Regions from separate parts of the Homo sapiens genome. Here region 2 is linked to region 1. The links are contacts of gene promoters, found by promoter capture Hi-C in blood cells and fetal thymus (Javierre and others, 2016). All regions are on one chromosome and are shown on one strand. Each heading gives the region's core, a stretch centred on a gene start or on the middle of the fragment in contact. The rest is flanking DNA. Distances are from core to core; before and after follow the strand shown.

What was found. The method cuts DNA at HindIII sites, captures the fragments that hold promoters and counts their contacts. A CHiCAGO score of 5 or more calls a contact.
Region 2: a fragment that was not itself captured here is called in contact with the fragment with the promoter of STK39 in region 1 in 2 of 17 cell types (non-activated CD4 T cells and activated CD4 T cells); the score reaches 5.4 in non-activated CD4 T cells.

The regions. Positions count from the first base shown.
Region 1 is chr2:168,245,407-168,249,301 of GRCh38, forward strand. STK39 (serine/threonine kinase 39) reads right to left here and starts at 2,189. Exons shown (of 18, transcript NM_013233.3): 1 at 1,822-2,189. The coding sequence starts at 2,029. LOC107985959 (a long non-coding RNA gene) reads left to right here and starts at 2,555. Exons shown (of 5, transcript XR_007087282.1): 1 at 2,555-2,662. RefSeq lists silencers at 1,075-1,274, 1,295-1,384, 1,475-1,524, 1,885-1,934, 2,145-2,394. The HindIII fragment of the contact is 2,511 bases long and covers 495-3,005 here.
Region 2 is chr2:168,716,840-168,720,734 of GRCh38, forward strand. It overlaps CERS6 (ceramide synthase 6), which reads left to right. Exons shown (of 10, transcript NM_203463.3): 8 at 1,033-1,139. Among named protein-coding and RNA genes, the nearest start is that of CERS6-AS1, 68 kb to the right of the region's middle. The HindIII fragment of the contact is 979 bases long and covers 1,186-2,164 here.

The DNA.
Region 1 (3,895 bases), core at 939-3,438:
TGGGACACAGCAGGCCTTCAGATCTTGTTGCGCAAATAACAACTATGAGGTTACATGCTATGAGGTCTGTAAAAAGAGGGGCAGAAGAAACCACGGCATTTTGCCTTGAAAGAAGCAGAAGGCTTTTCAAGGAATATTCACACTCACCTTGGAAGCGGAGTGAGATTTAGTACACAAAGATGGGCACTCACAGGAGGGAAGAGCCTCTGCAAGGCAGCAAAGAATGGAAGACCAGATGTGCGGAAGACAGCGGTGTATTCAGGAAGCAATCACTGAAGAGTAGACAATGGGAGGAGGCAGGCAGGTTGAGGGTACAGGGCCTATATGCCAGGTTAAAGAGGTTTCCATGGAATATTCCAGGCTTTGAGAAGCCCCTGAAGCTATTTCAGGCAGTGACATGAAGACTCATCCCTTTAGAGTCTTTGGTCAAAAATTATGAAAGATCTGGGTTTTCAAAGAATTTTGTCTACAGATGCCTATTATAGGTTATCTGAAGCTTGTATATATCCTAGGTTACGGACCTGCCCAACATTTTCTCACATATTTTTATGTATATATTTATATATATATTTCCGTCTATGCTGTTTTATTCCCCAATAGCAGGTGATAAAGGCTCATTTAAACACCTAGTGAAATTTTTATATCTGTTTTAATTTTTTTAAAAGGAGGTGAAGAATTTTTTGAAGTGAAAGTTAGAAAAAATACTTAAGATAAATATTCTGAACTCCTTTTTCATCGCTGTACTTATATACCAAGATTCTGGAAAGGCAACATCCCATCCCTGCGTCAGTAAGGTTAGACGCTGAGGGCCCACTTAACCTGGAGGCTTCCCTAAGTGACAAGACTCTCAAACTGGATGATCCAATAGGGAAGGTTCTAAGTCAAGGGACAAAACAAATCTCCTGGCCCTTCAAGTGCTTGGCCCAAGGAAAAGTAACGCCGAGCCCTGCGACTCTGCCAGGTATTTAAAAATGTAAGATAAGGTGATATTTGTGAGCCGGCCAGAAGGCAACGAAAGGCAGAGAGCAGATCACCGGCAGCCTCGGATTTCACTCTTGCAGCTCGGCCTGAAACAGAGGGAAGCATCGGCCCGGTGCAGGGCAGGAGGCCAGGGCACCCGCTTTCCCCGGGGAGCCGGACTGGGCGGCAGGCGGCGCACCCTGGCACGGAGGGAGGCGGGTACCCGGGCGCGCCGAGTGGCGCGGAGAGCCGGGCTGCAAGGCGGGCGTGGAGTGGCGGCTGTCAGGAAGAGAGGCCAGCATCCTCCCCGGCCTCAGAAAAGCACTGGGGCCTCCGCGGCTTCTACGTGGCCCCGTTACCCACGACGAGAGGGTCACGACGGGAGGCAGAGGAGCGGCTGCGCCCGCAGAGTCCCCCAGGACGCGGCCCCCGGGGCCCTGGAAACCCAGGGCGGGGCCCCCGCAACCACACCCCACCCGCGGCTGCCTGTCCGCGTGGCCACCGGCCACGGGCTGCGGTCCCGGCACGCGGGGGGAGGAAGATGCGGCGGCGCCGCCTGGTCCTCCGCTCCACCGCCCCGGCGATCCCTGAGATAAAAGTTTGCAGCATGCGGCTCGTCTGCAGTGCGAGTCACATCCGCCGCGCCGCCTCCTGCAGCACCAACGCTCATAGAACGAACAAATACATTAAAAATTAAAAAAAAAAAAAAAAAAAAAAAAAAAACTGTTGAAGCCAGTAGGCCCCGAAGCCGGCCTCTCTGCCTCCAGGGCGTGCATGCAGGCTAGCCCAGCATCCCGCGCCCCCTCCCGCCCGGCCTCGGCGCCCGGCCTGTGCCGGCCCCGCCGCGCCCGCCGCACTGACCGATAACCTCCTGCAGCTCGTACGCGTCCCTGCAGATGGGCCAGCCGACAGCCTGTGCCGCCGGGGCCGGGGCCGGGGCCGGGGCCGCGGGAGCTGCCGGGGCCGGCGCTGCTGTCGCGGCCGCCGGGGCCGCCGCCGCCGCCGCTGTCACCGGGGCCGCCTGCTGGGGAAGCTGGACGTGCACGGGCGAGCCGCTCGGCTCCGCCATGATGCTGCGGAGGAGAGCAGGAGGACGCGCCGGCCGACGGACGACCTTCCACTTGAAACTTCCTTTGCCTCGCCGCCGACACCTCTCGGCCGGCGCACGCCCTCCCCGCCCGCCGCCGCCGCCGCCGTCCCCGCCGAAGCCAGCTAGGAGGGGAGGGAGCAAGGGAGGCCGAGCTGGGCGGAGGGAGGAGGCAGCGCCGGCGGAGGCGGGGAAGGGAGGAGGCGGCGGCCGCTGCGCTCGCCGCGCGCCCAGAGCCTAGCGCGCGCTGTTCTCCGCCTCGGCGAGGGGAACCGCCGCCCCCCCTCTCCGCCGCCCCCTCCCGCTCCCGCTCCGCTGGCGGCCGGGGAAGTTCCCACCAAAGGAGTCAGGCCGCTTTGTGTGTGCTTTCGGGGCCACCGGCCCTGGTTCTCCTCCTCCCTCCCTGCTCGCCCTGCGCCTTGGCCCCAGACGATCAGGCTTGCCGGAGGACGCCCCCTGGGGACCCCGAGGGCGGGGTCGTTGAACGGCCGCCAGGTTCTCACATTCAGAATTCTCCTGCCACCAAAGAGAACCTGAAGTTCATTTACAAGTTGACGAGCGGGATACCTACATGGTGTCCCTTTGCAAGACGCCAGTTAGAAAATAACCCAAGTTGTAAGTTTCCGGCGCTTTACTTGCCGGTATCCCTTTCCCACCTTGCCTAATCTAATCGCAGTCCTTCTAGTTTTTCTTAGTAAATGAAACTTGATTCCTTAGGTCTCTGGCTGTTCAGACTTCATTTTTTCCAAGCCGCCTGGATCCCAGGGAGGCGATTTAAGGGGCTGTGGAATTAGAATAAGACATGCAGGAGAGGTTTAGAAAGTTTGCTCAAATTCTACACCCTTAATAATTGCCACGTTAGCCCGTGAGGACACTGAGGCCAGACATCAGGCGTTTCTTTAAGAGCGTATACTTGGTGGGGAAATAATTTATTGGGGCATGAATAAACTGTGTTGGAAGCTTTTAATTGCTGTTTTTTCAACACCCCAAAAATAACCTCGTCTGTAAAACTGCTATGGTAAAACCATAGGTTTTCCTAATTATAGGTGTCATATTTAACAGTGAATGTTCTCTGTGTTCCCTCCGTGGAGGTGACCAGGATCCACCGTTCTTGTCTCCAACTGAAACGGGGCAGTAAACCAATAGTATTGGTCGTTTGGCCAAGATGATCTTGTCTGGTTCTCATTGCTAGGACTGCTGAAGAAATAGGTAAGAATAATGAGGATGTAATAAAAACTCTAGGGATATCATGATTTTGTCTCCCGAGTGTATGTACAGAAATCTCACTAAAATTTTTGAAAGATTATTCAGAAGAAGCCCAGAAATTTATTAGGAAAGTTAGTTGTCTAATCAAAACATTGATGTCCACTGAAGATGAGGGCACTTAATCTCTTGGAGCATTACAAAAGTTGGAGTAAAGCAGCTACCTCGCTCTGGTCTTGAAGCAGAAGTTCATGCTGAACTAAGTGTACATTCTTTGATGCGGAGGACTTCAAAAACTGTGTCTTGTCATGTCTGTCAAGAAACAGAGCCCTTCATAAACAAATTCTAGGCCTCTGAGGAACAGGGGAGCTCTTTATACCAAGCCATGGCTGCTGACCTCTTCAAGTGCTGCCTCCACCCTACCCCAAAGAACTTTTAAGGACTGTTTTTAAAGGAAAAGAAAAATGATCAAATGAATATGACTTCCATTTTGTCATATGAATTTCTATTTTTGACTTTCAAACCATGAAGTGGGATTATGAAGACCAGGAATGTTCTTGGGACTTAGTAGGAAAACATGATGCCGTCAAGATCAATATCACAGAATTGAATCAAACACAGATCAATTAGTCTCCCACAAAAAGC
Region 2 (3,895 bases), core at 425-2,924, 470 kb after region 1:
CTCATAGCTTTGTGCTTTATTTAAAGCTTTTAAATTATAGCCTCTGTGGATAATGTCAACAATCTTTTCAAATCTGACTCAGTTAATTTAAGTTTCCAAGAAGTAGAAAATAATGTTATAAATTCAGAAGGCATCATGAATTTATAACCCTGTGTGTAGGTGCTGTGAATTCTATGCAAAAATGTAAAAAGAGATGATTAAGCAAAATTGTTTTCAGTCTCACCTGTTTTTAGAATCATCTGTAAAAAAAGTAGATGGTAGAGAAAGGGATGTGATTTCTTCCCTAGACTAATTTATAATATAAAAAGTCTTCACTTAAATCACTGTCATAAATTATGAGAGTACTTTTCACAGACCCTTGAACATTAGTGGCTTTCATCTAAAAATGACCCATTCATGTAGTTTTGAAAATTCTACCTAAATGGATTAGTTGAAATGACATCATCTTGACACTTTCTTCATTTCTAAGTTCATGAGAGTAAGCCAGAAGAGCATCTCCCCAGAGTACTCCTTGTGCCTGTTTAAAGAAAACCTACAATTTTAAGGAGAAAGGAAGAAAAACGCAGAAAAGCTCCATATATTCTATATAAAGTTTGTGGCCCCGGTATTTGAGATTCATAAAAAGGTTTAAAGGATTGTCCAGCACTTCTGTTTGAACTGTTAGGCCAGATTTCTGTTTTGGTGTCTCTGGCTTGCTAGTATCATCTATGATGCAAGAATCTCTTATTTTTCTCTCTGTTTTTCTGAAATCAACCATACAAATGAATTTCTCAGGTTGCTGAATATTTTATTAAATCTGTAACAGTCAGGAATTCTACTTATGGCTAATGCTGCCTTTCACTCAACTTACGGGTAATTTATAAATACTGGTGCATGATGTATGACATTTCAATCGCAGGCTGAAATGCATAAAAATGCAGGCAATTTTATGCATCTGGTAAGGTATATCTTATAGGAGATTCATGCATATTGAAAGAAACTTTTTATTATCAGTTTAACTACATTAATATATCACATTCCTTTCTTTCATAGGCTGCCAAAATGGCAAATTATGCCAAGTTTCAGAAAATGTGTGATCTCCTGTTTGTTATGTTTGCCGTGGTTTTTATCACCACACGACTGGGTATATTTCCTCTCTGGTGAGTATGCCAGTCTCCTTCCTGATAGAGCCACCCTTTCCAAATAAGCTTTCTGAACCATTTTCCTTTTGAATTTTACTGTAAGTATTTACAGGTTTAAATATATTGGGGGGGAGGGGAAATACCTCAAGAAGCTGCTTGATTTCTTCTTCCAGAAGAGGGTTGCACTCTTTACTAATGATTTCCACAGGATAGTTGGAAAAGGATGTGGCTTGCATGGCTTCTGAAGCCACAGAAAGCCATCTGTCATAGAAGGCACTAGTCTAGAATATGACTCAAGAACCTCAGCTGTGAAGGTTGGAATTAAGAAAGAAACCGTGGTGTTGCAAACAAGTATATGACAGGAATCTCCTGTACCAGGGGTTCACAGAGGGTTGTCCCTGGATTAGCAGTAGCAGCATCACCTAAGAACCTGTTAGAAATGCACATTCTTGGCCCCACCCCAGGCCCACTGAGTGAGAAACTCTGGATATAAGTCCTGGCAATGTGTTTTAATAAGCCTTCCTGATGATTCTGCTGCATGTTAAAGTTTGAAAACCACTATCCTAGATAATTCTTTTCATTAGCTGTATACCTTTCTAACCAAATAGAGTCTTTGAATTATATCCAAAGTCTCTTCCAGCTTTGTGTTACTTGGCAAATAGATGCTTTTCATATTTCTTCCAACTTACTGAAGAAAAACGTTGACCAAGAGGGATTCCTGCTCCACCCCTGAAGAATTTCTTTAGGTTGACCTCAGTCCCCCAAACACCAATCTTCCTGTATGATTTTTCTACTCATTACTAAGCCTTCTAACTGTTAGATCGTCATGCCTGCTATTTCCCCACCTTGTTTCAGGTATATAAAAGAGCTTTGTCAGAGGTCTTAAGGAATTCAGGATTTACTCTGTTGAGTCACTCCCTGCACAGGTAGAGGCAGAGTCAGAAAAAGAATGTGAAGTCAGATTTTAGAAAACCTTTGCTGACTCCTGGGTCTTCATTCTAAGTACTTGCCCCCATCTGTGTGATTAGCCATCTACAACAGTAAGCTTACCAGTCTAGAATATCCATTCTTTGCCTTTTCCATATTGTTTAGGTGTGGACTTTAAAATTCCAATGAGCTGCCATTTTTTGTGTGTATTTAGTGAAAATTTACTGGTCATTTGCTGCATTACCAGCACTGAGATGGTACTGGTAATGCTGATAATTCAGTTAGACATAGGGCTGCCCTTGGGGCATTTACAGTTGAATTCCTACAGGTCCTTTTAATATTCCAGTTTATAATTTGGGGTATGGGGTGGGGGAGGCCAGAGGTTATAAATTTTTTTTCCAAACATTTACTGGACATAGGTAATATAGATGGATTATCAATATTTAAATAGTTTTGTTGCATTTACTGAGGAGCTCTGTTGGCTAAATTATACATTATAGCAGATATATTTGTGTGTGTGAAATAGTGACTCACCTGTAGAGGGTAAGGTGTAATGGAGGTAGATCAGACTTTAGTTTTAAGAAGCATTTCATAGACCTATTTCCCCTTCAAAGACTGTGCTTTAGGTAGAAGAAACAAAATTATTTCCCCTGCCTTATATTCCTTTTGTTTTCAACCCATTTCTTTGGATTCACCAACAATACCTTCCAGGTTCCTCTTGACTATATTTGAATTCATCATGAGTCATCAGAATATTGGTAATTGATGGGTTTAGTAACACTTGGCTTATTCTCTGTTATATCAGCAATCCATGGTCCTCAAAGACAGCATACACCATGATTAGCCTTTTAAGAACCATGCACTGCTCCTCCAGACTTCTCTTCCAGTCACAATACATCCTTCTAGAACAACCCTGTCCAAAAGAAATATAATGCAGGCTTTATAGTAATACAATATTTTCTAGTAGCCATACTAAAGGTTCTTTTTTTTTTAAAAGATGAAAGGTGATATCCATTTAAATAACATATTTAACTCAGTATATTCAAAATAGTATTTTTTTTTTTTTAAGACAGAGTCTTTCCCTGTCGCCCAGGCTGGAGTGCAGTGGTGTGATCTTGGATCACTGCAGTCTCTGCCTCCCAGGTTCAAGTGATTCTTCGGCCTCAAGTAGCTGAGACTACAGCACGCACCACCAGGACCGGTCTAATTTTTTTTTTTTTTTAGTAGAGACGAGGTTTCACCATGTTGGCCAAGCTGGTCTCAAACTCCTGACCTCAAGTGATCCACCCGCCTCGGCCTCCCAAAGTGCTGGGATTACAGGCATGAGCCACCGTGCCTGGCCCAAAATACTATTTTAACGTATCAACACATTAATATTAAAATGTTTTGAGTATTTACAGTCTTTTAATTTATATTAAATCTTTGAAATTCAATGTATATTTCACATTACCACACATCTAGATTTAGTTTAACTACATTTCAAGTGCTCAGTAGCCACACGTGCCTAGCTTATTGGACAGTGCATTTCCAGAAAAGAACAACTATCACAGTAACCAGATTCGACACATTTTCTGGGGTCTGAGTATCTTGATTGACATTCTTAAGTCTGCTGTTTGCTGCGTCCGTACGAGTCAGGATAGTATACTGGTTAGCTGGGACGTTTGGACCAGTGTGCATGGGTTCAAATCCTGCCTCCACTGCTTAACACCTTTGTGCTGAAGTTTCCTCATCTCTTAAATAGGAATGATGATGATGCCCACTCACAGCATTGTTGTAAACACTAAGTGATTTTATGTCTCTATAGAGCTAAGAAACATGTCAGGTTCATAGTAATTGCTATGTAAGTA